2 separate regions of the Homo sapiens genome follow, and region 2 is linked to region 1. Evidence: promoter capture Hi-C in human tissues and cell types (Jung and others, 2019). All regions are on one chromosome and are shown on one strand. The core of a region is centred on a gene start or on the middle of the fragment in contact, and the rest is flanking DNA. Distances in the headings are between cores, read along the strand shown.

Evidence for each region. Contacts are between HindIII fragments. The study calls those that stand out against the background at their distance.
Region 2: a contact is called between a fragment that was not itself captured here and the fragment with the promoter of TVP23A in region 1, in 2 of the 25 tissues and cell types used here (lymphoblastoid cells and spleen).

Annotation. Positions count from the first base shown.
Region 1 is chr16:10,815,981-10,823,884 of GRCh38, reverse strand. It overlaps TVP23A (trans-golgi network vesicle protein 23 homolog A), which reads left to right and starts at 5,091. Exons shown (of 8, transcript NM_001079512.4): 1 at 5,091-5,400; 2 at 5,703-5,782. The coding sequence starts at 5,392. RefSeq lists an enhancer at 2,344-2,553. The HindIII fragment of the contact is 21,418 bases long and covers 1-7,904 here.
Region 2 is chr16:10,771,070-10,778,973 of GRCh38, reverse strand. It overlaps TVP23A (trans-golgi network vesicle protein 23 homolog A), which reads left to right. Exons shown (of 8, transcript NM_001079512.4): 3 at 3,878-4,022; 4 at 4,846-4,935; 5 at 5,533-5,661; 6 at 7,176-7,304. Among named protein-coding and RNA genes, the nearest start is that of NUBP1, 31 kb to the right of the region's middle. The HindIII fragment of the contact is 8,970 bases long and covers 1-7,113 here.

The DNA.
Region 1 (7,904 bases), core at 3,842-6,341:
GCGTGCCACCAAGCTTGGCTAATTTTTTGTATTTTTAGTAGAGATGGGGTTTCACCTTGTTAGCCAGGATAGTCTCAATCTCCTGACCTCGTGATTTGCCCGCCTCAGCCTCCCAAAGTACTGGGATTACAGGCATGAGCCACCATGCCCGGCCACAAGTGATCATTTTTAAGTATAATTATGTCCCAAATATTGCATGGAACATACTTGCACTAAAAAAATTGTCATTTATTTCAAATTCTAATTTAGCTCAGTTTCTGTATTTTTTTCTTTTTTTTTTTTTTTTGAGACAGGGTCTCACTCTGTCGCTCAGGCTGGAGTGCAGTGGGGCAATCTTGGCTCACTGCAACCTCTGTCCCCCAGGTTCAAGCAATTCTCCTGCCTAAGCCTTCCTTGTAGCTGGGATTACAGGTGCACACCACCACGTACAGCTAATTTTTGTATTTTTAATCAGGATGGGGTTTCACCATGTTGGCCAGGCTGGTCTTAAACTCCTGACCTCAAATGAACAGCCTGCCTTGGCCTCCCCCAAAGTGTTGGAATTACAGGCGTGAGCCACCATGCCCTGCCTGAGTTCCCTTATTTTTATTTGCTAGATCTGGCAACCCTACCTGGGGAGAAATGACAGGATCGTCGTCAGATGCCAGGGAGTGGGGTGCAGATCTTAGGGGCCAGTGGGATCGTAGGGAGTGCCACTCATAGGAATGCTGGGCTGAGGGTGATGAGCAGCTGCTGGCTTTGGTGTGACAGGTTTGGGGGCTGCCACTTCCATCCTGCCTGGTGGGGACACGGAGTGCATCTTGGGCCTTTTCAGGCCCCAGATGTAGTCAAACTCTTTCCACTCCCCACTGACCCTCTATGCCAACTGCCCTTTGCTCGCAGCTAAAGAGTCAAACACTCTGCGTGTCTTACAGCCTGCCATGGTCCTGCCAGACTGACGTCTCCTTCCTCCCCTGGCCGAATGTTCTCCTCCAGCCTCTGGGTTCCAGCACCCTGACCTGTGTTTGCCAGAATTCACACCCAAGCCTCTGCCTCCTGGTCCAGGACTCCTGGGGTCACTGGAGAGAAAGACTGTGTGTGTACCTCTGTCCAGGTGCCCTATGTCCCGGGGGCACGCAGTGTGAGGCCAACAGGAGCCACTCAGGAAAGGCCAGCCCTGTTCTGCTGGGAAGACAGATATCCCCAGCAGAGGCCCCTGACACGAGGCTCCTGTCCTGTGTGCTGCTGGCCCATGGGGGCTCCTGACCCGAGACCCCTCTGCTGATGACCTTAAGTCACTGTCAACAAGGCCGCTGTTTCCTGAGCCCCTATTCAGAGAAAGGAATCTGACATGTTTTCTCTGGTCCTTCATCATCCTTGCCAGGTAGGGGGAAAGTATGGCGCCACTTTACAGATGTGGAGACTGAGGCCAGAGAGGTGAAGTCCCCTGCCTAAGGTGACCTGTCCCCTCCCCAACAAAGCCTGCAGACTCCAGATGTTGACCTCCAAGGTCAGCCAGAGGCCAGTGGCTACCTGAGCCTGGACCTCCTTCCCTGGGGTTGTTCTGGCTTCAAGGTCCCAAGCCCAGCTGCAGGGATCGGAGATGGGGTTGCTTCTCACAGGTCTACTCCCCAAATCCTTCAGGGGCCAAGACCAGTGTGGGTAGGGGGAGGGGAGAGGGCCAGTGTTTCCCAAAGGTCGGGCTTCCAAGCCCTCTCTGCGGCTCTTATTAAGGCAGATCTCCAAGCCGCAACCCTGGAGGTTCAGAAAACCTAGAGTGAGATCCTAAAATCTACCCTTTTGTTTGTTTGTTTGTTGTTTTTTTTCCGAGACTGAATCTCACTGTGTGGCCCAGGCTGGAGTGCAGTGGCGCAATCACAGCTCACCACAACCTCCACTTCCCGGGTTCAAGCGATTCTCCTGCCTCAGCCTCCTGAGTAGCTGAGATTACAGGCTTGCGCCACCATGCCCGGCTCATTTTTTGTATTTTTAGTAGAGATGGGGTTTCGCCATATTGGCCAGGCTGATCTCAAACTCCTGACTTCAAGTGATCTACCCACCTCGGCCTCCCAAAGTGCTGGGATTACAGGTGTGAGCCACTGTGCCCGGCCTAAAATCTACCTTTCAACCAGGTGTCTCTGCCGCAGCCAGTTTTAAAACCAAGATGAGTTCTCTGTGCAACCCTCAGGCCCTCTGCCCACCCCTCAGATTCAGGAAGCTGACCCCACAGAGGGCCGTCTGGGCCACGTGTAGAGGGAGGGTGCTTTCTTCCAAGGAGGGAATAATAGGGCTTCATATGTGGCCCCAGCATCTGTATCCTCAGCCCTCTGCCCCATGTGGACAGGTCAGGAGGGATGGAAGTGACCCTGTATTTATAGAGCCACCTCCAGATGGCAGGAGCTGAGGATATTTCTGGAGGAACCTCCAACCCAGTGGCTGAGAATGACAGTTGGTCCTGACTGGGGATTCCACGGGGGTTTTCCCATGACTCCAGGAACCCCAACTCAACAGACACCAACAGCTGGTGATTCTTAGGGTCAGAGAAAAAGCCCCTAAATGTTCTGCAACGGCTTCTTCCCTCCAGCTGCCCTCCTGCCTCCTTCCTCCCAATATCCCCTTCCCAGGCTGCTGGGGCCCCGCTGGGAGTGGGCCTCTCCGTTCACCCTTCTGGGCAGGAAGAGCTCACAGGCCTTTCTAGAAAACCAGGCCTTGGTGGTTTAGATCTTTACAATTCAAAGGGTGGTCCAGGGAGCAGCAGCATCAGCTTCTCCCACGGGCTCTCAGAAATGCAGGATCTCAGCCGGATGTGGTGGCTCACGGCTGTAATTCCAGCCTTTTGGGAGGCTGAAGCAGGCAGATCACTTGAGGTCAGGAGTTCGAGACCAGCCTGGCCAACATGGTGAAACCCTGTCTCTACTAAAAACACAAAAATTAGCCAGGCGTGGTGGTATGTTCCTGTAGTCCCAGCTACTTAAGGGGCTGAGGCACAAGAATCACTTGAACCCAGGAGGTGGAGGTTGCAGTGAGCTGAGATCTAGCCACTGACTCCATCTCAAGAAAGAAAGAAAGGAAGGAAGGAAGGAGAAAAGAAAAGAAAGGAAGGAAAGAAAGGAAGAAAGAATCTCAGCCCCTGCCCAGACCCCCAGACCCCCAGAACGCTGAGTCAGCATCCAGCTTCTAAGCCAACCCCAGGAGATTCATTTGCAGATTGAGGGGTCAGAAGCACTCATTTAAATCACTGGTTCTTTACCTTGCAGCCCAACACCTGGGAGCTTTAAAAGCACTGGTATAGGGTCCCATCCCCAGAGAGCCTGATTTAATTGGTCCATAACACAATCTGGGCAGTGTGTCTTTTAGAAGCTATCCAAATCGCAGCAGAGTTTGGCAAATATATATACATATACATATATATATATATATATATATATATATATATATATATATATATATACATACACACACACATATATACACATTGTATATATATAAATCTTGGTTCCTGAAGATCGCATAGTAGAGGCTGGGTGCAGTGGTTCATGCCTGTAATCCCAGCTCTTTGGGAGGCCAAGGTGGGTGGATCACCTGCGGTCAGGAGTTGGAGACCAGCCTGGCCAACATGGTGAAACCCCCTCTCTACTAAAAATACAAAATACAAAAATTACCCGGGTTGATGTCAGGCGCCTGTAATACCAGCTACCTGGGAGGCTGAGGCAGGAGAATTGCAGGAACCCGGGAGGCAGGGGTTGCAGTGAGCCGAGATCGCACCATTGCACTCCAGCCTGGGTGACAAGAGGGAAACTCCATCTCAAAAAAAAAAAAAAAGAGAAATGGCATAGGAGAAAGCACTTTCCCTCCACACACACCTGGCAGGCCCTTGTGGGGTCAGCTTAGGGAATTGGGGTGGGGGCGGAGGACAGAAAGCCTGGAACCCAGGCCCAGGATCAGAGATGAGACAGCTCCTGCCTCCACCTCCGCCCATGGAGACCAGCAGTGGGGAAAATGTGTCAGGGGCTTGTGGCCCAGGAGCCCTCTTTGGGGTCACCAGGGGCAGGGGACACGTACCTATTGTCCATGGTGGGAGGGCAAAGGGCAGGGTCACTGGCTTTGGCATCTCGATGCTCAGCCCTCTGTCCGTGGGTGGGGGATCAGGACAGGGAGAGGGCACGCAGGAGAGGAGAGTCACTGTGTCCTGGGCCAGGAAAGACCCTCAGGTGACAAGTTTTCTTTCCTGGGAGGTACCCAGGAAGACTTTCACTTCAAGAAACACTACTATTACTGTCAATAATAGTATTAATACTACTAATAACTTTGCGCTTAATAAGTGCCTGGCACGGCGATGCACGCAGATCTCACTGTGGTTCTGAAGCTGTGGCTATAGCAGCGCCACCCCTTAAAAGGCAGGTGAGGCCGGGTGTGGTGGCTCACTCCTGTAATCCCAACACTTTGGGAGGCTGAGGCAGGAGGATGGCTTGAACCTCGGTGTTCAAGACTAGCCGGGGCGACATAGTGAGACCCTCCTCTCTACAAAAATAAAAATTTAGCTAGGTGTGGTGGTGCAGCCTGTGGTCCCAGCTTTTCGGGAGGCTGAGGCGGGAGGACTGCTTGAGCCCTGGAGTTTGAGGCCACAGTGAGCTACGATGGCACCAGTGCTCTCCAGCCTAGGTGCAGAGAATGTTCCCAACAATCTCTGCACGCAAGAAATTCCCAGGAACCTTGTGAAAAGCAGATTCTCAGGCCCGGCCCGGGGGATGTGGAAGGCCTGGAGTGGGGCCCTAGAATCTGCCTTCCCCACCCCACCCCCCAAAAAAGAACACAGCAGGGCCCATCCTAACTGCATTTTGTCGTGGGGGGTGGGGGCGCGGGGAAGGCAGATTCTAGGGCCCCACTCCAGGCCTTCCACATCCCCCGGGCCGGGCCTGAGAATCTGCTTTTCACAAGGTTCCTGGGAATTTCTTGCGCGCAGAGACTGTTGGGAAACACTGACCTTCTCCCAACCCTGAATGCGGCTGCCCACCACTGACATTCATTCACTGCCTTATCATTCGCTACATCCACGTTTATGCGCCGTCCACACCATTCGCTGACGCAGCCGCCCCCCGCCCCCGACTCCCATTCCTCCCACTATCTCTGTCCGCAGTTCCCCAGGCCGTTGCCTCCCTGCCGCCGCTTTCTCTCCTGGGCGCGTCCCCGGCGAGCCGAGCCCCCTCCCCAGCCTGCGACTGCGCCTTAGGCCCCGAGCGCCCCGCCCCACCCGAGAAGCTGCGCTGAGGCTGCCCCACAGGGCGCAGGCCCCGACCCTCAGCGTCCACCGTCTGCTGCCTACATCCGCCCGCCCGGCGTCCGACCCCTTCAGCGGCGACGGGCGGAGCTGGAGCCCCGGGCCTGGGCGCCAGGTGGGCTCCTGGGAGGGTGATGAAGCAGGTAGGGCCTCGGGGATGCTGGGGCTGGAGGCGGGGCGGGACGAGGGGAGCCTGCGGGAGCGCTGGAGAAGCCGGGAGGAGGAGGAGGGATGCGCCGGGGCCTGGGGCTGGGCTGCACCCGGTGGTCGGGAGGGTGGAGAGGGCTTTGCACTGCAGCCGCAGCGGAGGGGCCCCGCCAGCTCGGAGGGTCCACTTGGGAACCCGGTGGGGTGCAAGTGGAGTCCAAGCCCAGGAGGACAGGGCGGGTGGGGTTGGGGTGTGCGCCGTGCTTGGGCCTGCCACCTGCCCTTGCTCTCCTCCCAGGCCCTGGTGGACGATACCGAGGATGTGTCCCTGGACTTTGGAAACGAGGAGGAGCTGGCCTTTAGGAAAGCCAAGATCAGGTGTGTTGGGATGGAGCTTGGGTCAGGCGTTCCCCAAAGCTGCAAATTCATTCATTTACTCACTCATTCATTCAAAATATATTGAGCACCTACTGTGTGCCAGGTCTGGGGCTGGGGACATATCTGTGGACACATCAGACAAAGTCCCTGCCCTCCTGGAGCCTGCATTGGGAGAGGGAGGAAGAAGGGGTGGAGTTGATGTTGAACAGGCAAGGAGATTAATGAGATAATTGAATGTGAGAAGAAAATCAGCCCTGTGATGAAAGAGAAGGTAACTAGAGAAGGCCACTTGCCTTAGTGCAGCCATGGAGGGCCTCTCTGAGGAGGTGGCATTTGAGCTGAGACCAGAATGATGAGAAGCAGCCAGCCATGGGAGACTCCAGAGGGAGAGTGTTCCAAGCTGAAGGAACAGCAAGCGCAAAGGCCCTGGGGCTATGTTGTAAGATCAGAGAAAGCCACTGAGGCCAGAGGGGAGCAAGCTTGGCAGTGGGCTGGACAAGTGGAAGAGAGCTTGGAGTTTTATTCTAATCCCTGCTGAGTCTAGCTAGACAGACTTGTCCTGGGTCAAGTCACTTAACTGCCTGAGACCTCTAGCATCCCAGAAGGTGGCATGACCAAGGCATGAGGGATGACCTGTGAACGTGGTTGCCGATGGCCCAGGCGGCAGCCACTTCTAGAAACACCCACAGCTCAGCCTCACTCACCCACCCAGTTCTGCTTCCAGCTATCAGAGCCAGTAGGCATGGGACGAGCCCTGGCACCCAAATGCCATTCCTTGTAAAGTCTCTGTTTTTAAAATCAAACTCTCTGATTCAAACCTAATAAACCCCAGAAAGTAATAGACTGTATTAGTTTCCTATGGCCGCTAGAACAAATTACCATTATCATCTTGGCTTAAGACAAAAGAAGTTTATTCTCCTGCAGTTCTGGAGGCCAGAAGTCCACAGTCAGTGTTCCTGGGCTGAAACCAAGGTGGCAGCAGTGCCACACTCCCTTCGGAAGAATTAGGGGAAAATCCATTCTTTGCCTTTTCCAGCTTTTGGTGACTGCTGGCATTCTGTGGCTTGTGGCCTGTTCCTCCGTCTTCAAGGCCAGTGTTATAGCATGTTCACATCTCTCTCTGTTCCATGGTCAGGTGACGTGTGTGTGTGTGTGTGTGTGTGTGTGTGTGTGTGTGAAGTTTCCCTGTGCCTCTTTCTTTTTTTTTATTTTATTTATTTTTTATTATTATTGTACTTTAAGTTTTAGGGTACATGTGCACAACGTGAAGGTTCGTTACATATGTATACATGTGCCATGTTGGTGTGCTGCACCCATTAACTCGTCATTTAGCATTAGGTATATCACCTAATGCTATCCCTCCCCACTTCCCCCGTGCCTCTTTCTTATAAGGACTATTGTGTTGGCATTTAGCGTCCACCCAGATAATCTAGGATAACCTTTGCATCTCAAGATCCTTAATTATAGGCTGAGTGCATGGCTCACACCTGTAAGTAATCTCAGCACTTTGGGAGGCCAAGGCGGGCAGATCACTTGAGGTCAGAAGTTTGTGACCAGCCTGGCCAACATGGTGAAACCCTGTTTCTACAAAAAATACAAAAATTAGCTGGGTGTAGTGGCATGCACCTGTAATCTCAGCCACTCAGGAGGCTGGGGAAGGAGAATCACTTGAACCCGGGAGGTAGAGGCTGCAGTGGGCTGAGATCACACCACTACACTCCAGTCTGGGCGACAGAGTGAGACCCTGTCTCAAAAAAAAAAAATTCTTAATTAAATAATTAAATTACATCTGCAAAGTCCCTTTCATCATATATGGTGGCTGTCACAATTTCTGGGGATTAGAACCTGGATTTCTTTTTTTTTTTTTTTTTTTTGAGATAGGGTTTTGCTCTGTTGCCAAGGCTATATAGTGCAGTAGTACAATTATGGCTCACTGGAACCTCAAACTTTTGGGTTCAAGAGTTCCTCCTGCCTCAGCCTCCCTAGTAGCTAGGACTATAGGTGTTGCCACCATGCCAGGCTAATTTTTTAAAAATTTAATTTTGTAGAGATGGGGTCTTGGTATGTTGTCCAGGCTGATCTGGAACTTCCGGCCTCAAGTACTCTTCCCGTGTCAGCCTCT
Region 2 (7,904 bases), core at 1,379-3,878, 42 kb after region 1:
TCTGTATGTTTTGTTGTTTTGAGATGGAGTCTTGCTCCGTAGTGCAGTGGTGCAATCTCAGCTCACTGCAACCTCTGCCTCCCAGGTTCAAGCAATTCTCCTGCCTCAGCCTCCCAAGTAGCTGGGATTACAGGCGCCTGCCATCAGGCCTGGCTAATTTTTGTAGTTTTAGTAGAGATAGGGTTTCACCATGTTGGCCAGGCTGGTCTCGAACTCCTGACTTCAAGTGATCCAGCCGCCTCAGCCTCCCAAAGTGCTGGGATTATAGGCATGGGCCACCGCGCCCGACCCTCTATCTTTTTTTTTTTTTTTACATTTGTATTGTTCTACAAAGAGGACAGATGTTTCCAGTGATTCTAACTGACTCGATTACAAGGTTCAACATAACAAATATGTTTGCGGAGAATCTTAAATACTGGGTGCTTTTGGGGATATAAAAATGTGTTAAACATGGTCTGTGCCCTCAAAGAACTTTCAGTTATTGAAAGAGCATTTATTTATCTCCAGGGGCAAGGGACAAAATTTTATTCAGTTAGGAAATTCTCAATTAGGTTTACAGCAAAAAGAGACACCCAAGAGTCTTATCTTCTGGAACACTCCAGGAAGTTTTTAAGTTCTATGTGATCCTGTCTAATTCTTCGAGACAGCGATTTGCTCTGTTGCCCAAGCTGGAGTGCAGTGGCATCATCTCGACTCACTGCAACCTCCACCTCCCAGGTTCAAGCGATTCTCCTGCCTCAGCCTCCTGAGTAGCTGGGATTACAGGCACCTGCCACCACAACTGGCTAATTTTTGTATTTTTAGTAGAGACGGAGTTTTACCATGTTGGCCACGCTGGTCTTGAATTCCTGACTTCAACTGATCTGCCTGCCTCGGCCTCCCAAAGAGCTAGGATTACAGGTGTGAGCCACCACACCTGGTGATCCTGTCTAATTCTTCTTTTATTTTTATTTTTATTTTTTTTGAGACGGAGTCTCGCTCTGTCACCAGGCTGGAGTGCAGTAGTACGATCTCAACTCACTGCAACCTCCGCCTCCCAGATTCAAGCAATTCTCCTGCCTCAGCGTCCCGAGTAGCTGGGACTACAGGCGCCCACCACCACGCTCAGCTAATTTTTGTATTTTTAGTAGAGACGGGGTTTCACCATGTTGGCCAGGGATGGTCTCAGTCTCTTGACCTCGTGATCCACCTGCCTCAGCCTCCCAAAGTGCTGGGATTACAGGCGTGAGCCACCACGCCCGGCTTGATCCTGTCTAATTCTTAAAAGCCGGGTGCACTTCCTGGGTTGGTTTTCATTCAGGTCACCAGGAGAGCCAAGAGCCTGAGAGGCTCAGATGAGACCCATCCTGGTGAATAGTTGGTGCTTTGCTACGCAAAAAAGTCACTGTGAAGTCTGCTTCTGAATCTTAACATTCCCCTGGGAGTCGGAAGCCCCACAGTTGTAGAGGCACCTGTGGTTTGTTGACTCGGACTCCGTTTCTTCTTGGGGAGAATGAGCAGGCGCTTTCCCCTGCAGTTCTGTGTGGATCTCTGTGACCACCCCATTCGGCCCCGCATTTTCCAAAGCCCACAACATTTTGTAACCTAATCCAGAGGTTGCAAGCTCACTGCTCGCAGGCCAGTGAGAAACACAGACTGATATTTCAGTAAAAGAATTAGTGGCCATCATTTAAAATCAGATTTCCCATTGCAAGTCTGGATTTCTGACTTCTCATGAAAATCTTGGCTCTGGCAGTACTGGGTCTGGTTTGCACAGCTGCCTGGTGCTGGGAAGAGTCCCTTTCATCCCTCCCTTTTCCTCCCCTGCCCTGAGGTGCGGGTTTCATTCTCATCCATCACTGTGTCAGAGGCGTGTGAACCAGAGCAACTCCATCTTGAATAGGGGCTGGGTAAAACGAGGCTGAGACCTACTGGGCTGCATTCCTGGACGGTTAAGGCATTCTAAGTCACAGGATGAGATAGGAGGTCGCACAGGATACAGGTCATAAAGACCTTGCTGATAAAACAGGTTGCAGTAAAAAAGCCGGCTAAAACCCACCAAAACCAAGATGGCCATGAGAGTGACCTCTGGTCGTCCCCACTGCTACACTCCCACCAGCACCATGACAGTTCACAGATGTCATGGCAACGTCTGGAAGTTGCCCTATATGGTCGAAAAAGGGGAGGCATGAATAATCCACCCCTTCTTTAGCATATCATCAAGAAATAGCCATAAAAATGGGCAACCAGCAGCCCTTAGGACTGCTCTATCTATAGACTAGCCATTCTTTATTCCTTTACTTTCCAAATAAACTTGCTTTCACTTTACTCAATGGACTTGCCCTGAATTCTTTCTTGGGTGAGATCCAAGAACCCTCTCTTGGGGTCTGGATCTGAAACCCTTTCTGGTATAACAACTGGGCTCGTGCCATTGATTTCCTGATCATAGTTGAGTATCGTTCTCTACCTGTGTGCTCTATTTAAACTGGGAAACCACAGAAAGAAACAGAAACCCACAAGTGTCTTCAGTCTGGCCCACATCACCCACTGCCATCACCTGCTCTATACAATTTGGTAACCTTTCTTTTCTTGTTTTTATTTTTTTATTTTTTTATTTTTTGAGTTGGAGTCTGACTTTCTCACCCAGGCTGCAGTGCAGTGGCGTGATCTTGGCTCACTGCAACCTCCGCCTCCCAGGTTCTAGTGATTCTCCTGCCTCAGCCTTCCGAGTAGCTGGGGTTACAGGCAGCCGCCACCATGCCCAGCTAATTTTTGTATTTTGAGTAGAAATGGGGTTTCACCATGTTGGCCAGGCTGGTCTTGAACTCCTGACCTCAGGTGATCCGCCCGCCTCGGCCTCCCAATGTGCTGGCATTACAGGTGTGAGCCACCGTGCCTGGCCTATATCAGACTTACATTAAAAAATAATAATAATAAAAAAAATAAGGCCAGGCGTGGTTGCTTATGCCTGTAATCCCAGCACTTTGGGAAGCCAAAGTGGACAGATCACCTGAGGTCAGGAGTTCGAAACCAGCCTGGCCAACATGTTGAAATCCTGTTTCTACTCAAAGTACAAAAATTAGCTGGGCGTGGTGGCAGGCGCCTATAATCTCAGCTACTTGGGAGGCTGAGGCAGGAGAATTGCTTGAACCCGGGAGGTGGAGGTTGCTGTGAACCGAGATCACGCCACTGCACTCCAGCCTAGGGGACAGAGCAAGACTCCATCTCAAAAAAAAAAAAAAAAAAAAAAGAAAAGCAATTTACACAGGATGAGCATGTTCCCCTTGGCTCCCTCTCTTCTTTCTGGCCAGGTTTGTGTCTAAAGGCACAGTGAACAAGAACCACCTTCCCCTAGATTAAATGCCAGGATTCACGTGCCATTCACCACTGAGCAAGTATGATGAGTTAGACCTGCCATTCACAGGTCACATGTTTCCCTCTGTCCAGGAACACGCATTCCCCGATGACATGAGACACCTGCCCCGTGGGCTGCGTGTGAGCTTGGAGCTCAGTGACTGGTGGTGGAAAAACCCAACCTTTACCTTTAGGGAACTGGCCGTCATCTCTGCTAGGCGGGAAGGCAGTGACTGCTGTCACGTTTCACTTCAAAGATGACCGTGTTTCGAAGAGGGCAAGTGATATTTGGAGTCAAGTGGCGGGAAAGTACTGGATTCTTCGAAGGGGAGGAAAAAAAACAGTGTCAGCATGACTGTCTGGGGACTGCTGACCTAATGATGTGTCCCCAGGGCTACAGCCTGAGTTTCTGCGTCATATGCACCGGGGAGAACATTCCATTGAGCCACGCTAACACCCCCAGCAAAGTCTGAAGTGGTAAAGGGAGTTCAGTGACCATCCGCTTAGCTCTTGGAGTGAGGGCGCCTTCTGGGTCCTTTCCTAGACACCCCTTGGCCACCTTTTTCCACCTGTTTTTCCGAGTGAGTGCCATCGTCACCTACGTGAGCTGCGACTGGTTCAGCAAGAGCTTTGTGGGCTGTTTTGTCATGGTGCTGCTCCTCCTGTCCCTGGACTTCTGGTCTGTGAAGGTGAGGCCCTTTCGTGTGATGTCATCACTTCCGAAACACGAGGCTTGTCCCCTGTGTGCGTGGTACCAAGAGGTACTTTGGTTTAGACTCCTGAGACATGCTTAAGAGTGCTGAGCAGTGTCACTTAAAAGTAAGGGGAATGGAGAAACCCCGTCTCTACTAAAAATACAAAAATTAGCCTGGCGCGGTGGTGTGTGCCTGTAATCCCAGCTACTTGGGAGGCTGAGGCAGAAGAATCACTTGAACCCGGGAGGCGGAGGTTGCAGTGAGCCGAGGTTGTGCCATTGCACTCCAGCCTGGGTGACAAGAGTCAAACTCTGTCTCGGAAAAAAAAAAAAAAAAAAAGAGAGAGAATGAGAGCCAAGTGAGAGGGGTTTCCCTTATAAAAACCATCAGATCTCGTGGCACTTATTCACTACCATGAGAACAGTGTGGGGGAAACTGCCTGTATGATTCAATTATCTCCCACCCGGTCTCCCCCACAACACGTGGGAATTATGGAAGCGACAATTCAAGATGAGGTTTGGGTGGGGAGACAGCCAAACCATATCACTTGTATACGAATTAATACATATATTTAAAACATATATAATATGAACATATAAATTATATATGTTTTGTGGGGGGAGTGTGTAACTTTTTAAAGTAAGCTTAGTTGAAAACTAGAAGTCTTGACATCTGAGAATCCACTACAATTCAAGGCCTTTTTTCTTCCTGCTCCCAGTACAAGTCTGAAATGAATCAAGGAACTTTTGTTTATCAATACAGTGAATAAGCCTCTTTGCCTGTGACCTGCTCAGAGTCCTTTGTCTATTGTTCTCAGAATGTAACCGGAAGACTCCTGGTGGGCCTTCGATGGTGGAACCAGATAGATGAAGATGGGAAGAGCCACTGGATCTTTGAAGCCAGGAAGGTATTCTCCATGACGAGCTGAACTAACCAGAGCGGGGATAATGGGTGTGGAAAGTTTCTGTGGGTTCCTTTGGAGTTTTGTGCATATCTGATTCCTGCCTTACACAAAAGCCACCATTGCCAAGGTGCTCTGGTGAAACATGGGTGTGGCAAAAGTGTCTCCAAAATAGACCGGGCGTGGTGGCTCACGCCTGCAATCCCAGCACTTTGGGAGGCGGAGGTGGGTGGATCACTTGAGGTTAGGAGTTTGAGACTAGCCTGGGCAACATGGTGAAACCCTGTCTCTACTAAAAATACAAAAATTAGCTGGGCGTGGTGGCAGGCACCTGTATTCCCAGCTACTCGGGAGGCTGAGGCAGGAGAATCACTTGAACCCAGGAGGCGGAGGTTCCAGTGAGCCAAGATCACGCCACTGCACTCCAGCCTGGGTGACACAATGAGACTTTGTCTCAAAAACAAAACAAAACAAAACAACACCAACAACAAAAAATCCCACAGCAACAAAAGCATCTGCAAAATAAAATAAATGAAAATGTGAGCACGCTCGTTTGCAACCATTTCCACTTGTTTTGACATTTGAATTACTTTCCTTTAACAGGTCTCTCCGAATAGCATTGCTGCCACAGAAGCTGAAGCACGAATCTTCTGGCTGGGCCTCATAATCTGCCCCATGATATGGATTGTGTTTTTTTTTAGCACCTTATTTTCCTTGAAGCTAAAGTGGCTGGTAAGGCCAGATCTTGACTTCCACATTGCTTTGATGTCTCTGCAAAAAAAGTGTTTGCACCACTAGGCTTTTGTTGTTATTTGTTATTGATTGATTGATCAATTATAACAAGTTTATTGAGATATAATACACATTCCATACAATTTACCCATTTAAAGTATACAATTAGGGGCTTGGCATGGTGGCTTACGCCTATAATCCCAGGCCTTTGGGAGGCCAAGGTGGAAGGATTGCTTGAGCTCAGGAGTTCGAGACCAGCCTGGGCAACATAGCAAAACCCCATCTCTGCAAAAAATGCAAAAATTAGCCAGGCATGATGGTGTGCACGCTTGAGCCCGGGAAGCAAAGGTTGCAGTGAGCCAAGATTGTGCCACTGCACTCCAGCCTGGGTGCTAGAGTGAGACCTTGTCTCCAAAAAATAAAATAAATACTAAGTGTGGAATTCAGTGGCTTCTAGTGCAGTCACAGAGTTGTACAGCCAAAACCACCATCAATGTTAGGAAATTTTCATCACCGGAAGAAGCCTTGCGCCCTTTTGACATTGCTTCCCTGTGCTTCTGTTCCTCCAAGCCCTGGCACCTATTAATTTTTCTGTTTCTGTGGATTTGCCTATTCTGGGCATTTCATATAAATGGACTCACACAGGCTGGCACAGTACCTCACATCTGTAATCCCAGCACTTTGGGAGGCTGTGGCAGGTGAATCACCTGAGGTCAGGAGTTTGAGACCAGCCTGGCCAACATGGCAAAACCCTGTCTGTACTATAGATACCAAAATTAGCTGGGCGTAGTGGCACACGCCTGTAATCTCAGCTACTTGGGAGGCTGAGGCAGGAGAATCGCTTGAACCCAGGAGGCGGAGGTTGCAGTGAGCCAAGATCGTGCCACAGCACTTCAGCCTGGGTGACAGAGTGAGGCTCCGTCTTAAAAAAAATCAATAAATAGAGAAAACAAAATATTTGTAGATAGTAAAACAACAGTGTCATTTAATGAAAGTGCGGGCCCTGGAATTTGGATCCCGGCTCGACCACGCTCCAGCTCTGTGACCTTGGGCAGCTTTCGTCTTCCTGAGCCTCAGTTTCCTCTTTGTAAAATGGGATGATGATGGTGGCAACCTCTCCAGTTGTAATGATTCTGAGGTGTCCGTGGGTATTTGCAAATGCTCAGTAAATGTTGGCTGTTACTATTCTTAGGTGCAGGCTAGAGCATTTCTACGTGGCTTGAGAGGTGCATTTCTGTAAATGCTCTTAGAAAGTGACCTTTGCGTCAGATGGAGACCATCCTGGCTAACATGGTGAAACAGTGTCTCTACTAAAAATACAAAAAAATTAGCCAGGCCTGGTGGCGGACGCCTGTAGTCCCAGCTACTCGGGAGGCTGAGGCAGGAGAATGGTGTGAACCCGGGAGGCGGAACTTGCAGTGAGCTGAGATCGTGCCTCTGCACCCCAGCCTGGGCGACAGAGCGAAACTCTGTCTCAAAAAAAAGTGACCTTTGCTTTCTTTGTCTGAGTGCAGGCTCTGGTGGTTGCTGGGATCTCTCTCCAAGCTGCAAACCTGTATGGCTACATCCTTTGTAAGATGGGAGGCAACAGTGACATTGGCAAGGTCACAGCCAGTTTCCTGTCCCAGACAGTGTTCCAGACGGTGAGTAACTGAGGTCTGACTCTTGGACCACTCCTCTCCAGGTAGTCAAAGTCAAGGTGGCCTGCTGGCAACTGCGGTTTGTAATGTAACATATCCGCCAGGCTGCCAATGTTTTATTGTTTATATATTTTTTGGGAGACAGGATCTCGCTCTGTCACCCAGGCTAGAGTGCAATGGTGTGATCGCGGCCTATTGCAACCTCCATCTCTTGGGCTCAAGCGATCCTCCCACCTCAGCCTCTGGCACAGTTGGGACTACAGGTGTGTACCACCATGCCTGGCCTTTTTTTTTTGTAGAGACGAAGTTTTGCCATGTTGCCCAGGCTGCTCTAGAACTCCTGAGCTCAAGCAGCCCGCCTGCCTTGGCCTCCCAAAGTGCTGGGATTACAGCCATGAGTGAGCCACTGTGCCTGGCAGTTTTGTTTTTTAATTGTAAGATTTACATAAAATGTACCATTGTAACCATTTTAAAATGTATAGTTCTGTGGCATTAAGTATAACCACTTTATTGTGCAACCTTCACCCCACCCAGCTCCAGAACTGCTTTCATCTTGCAAAACTTAAGCTCAGTACCCACAAAACACTAACTCCCCCTCCTCCT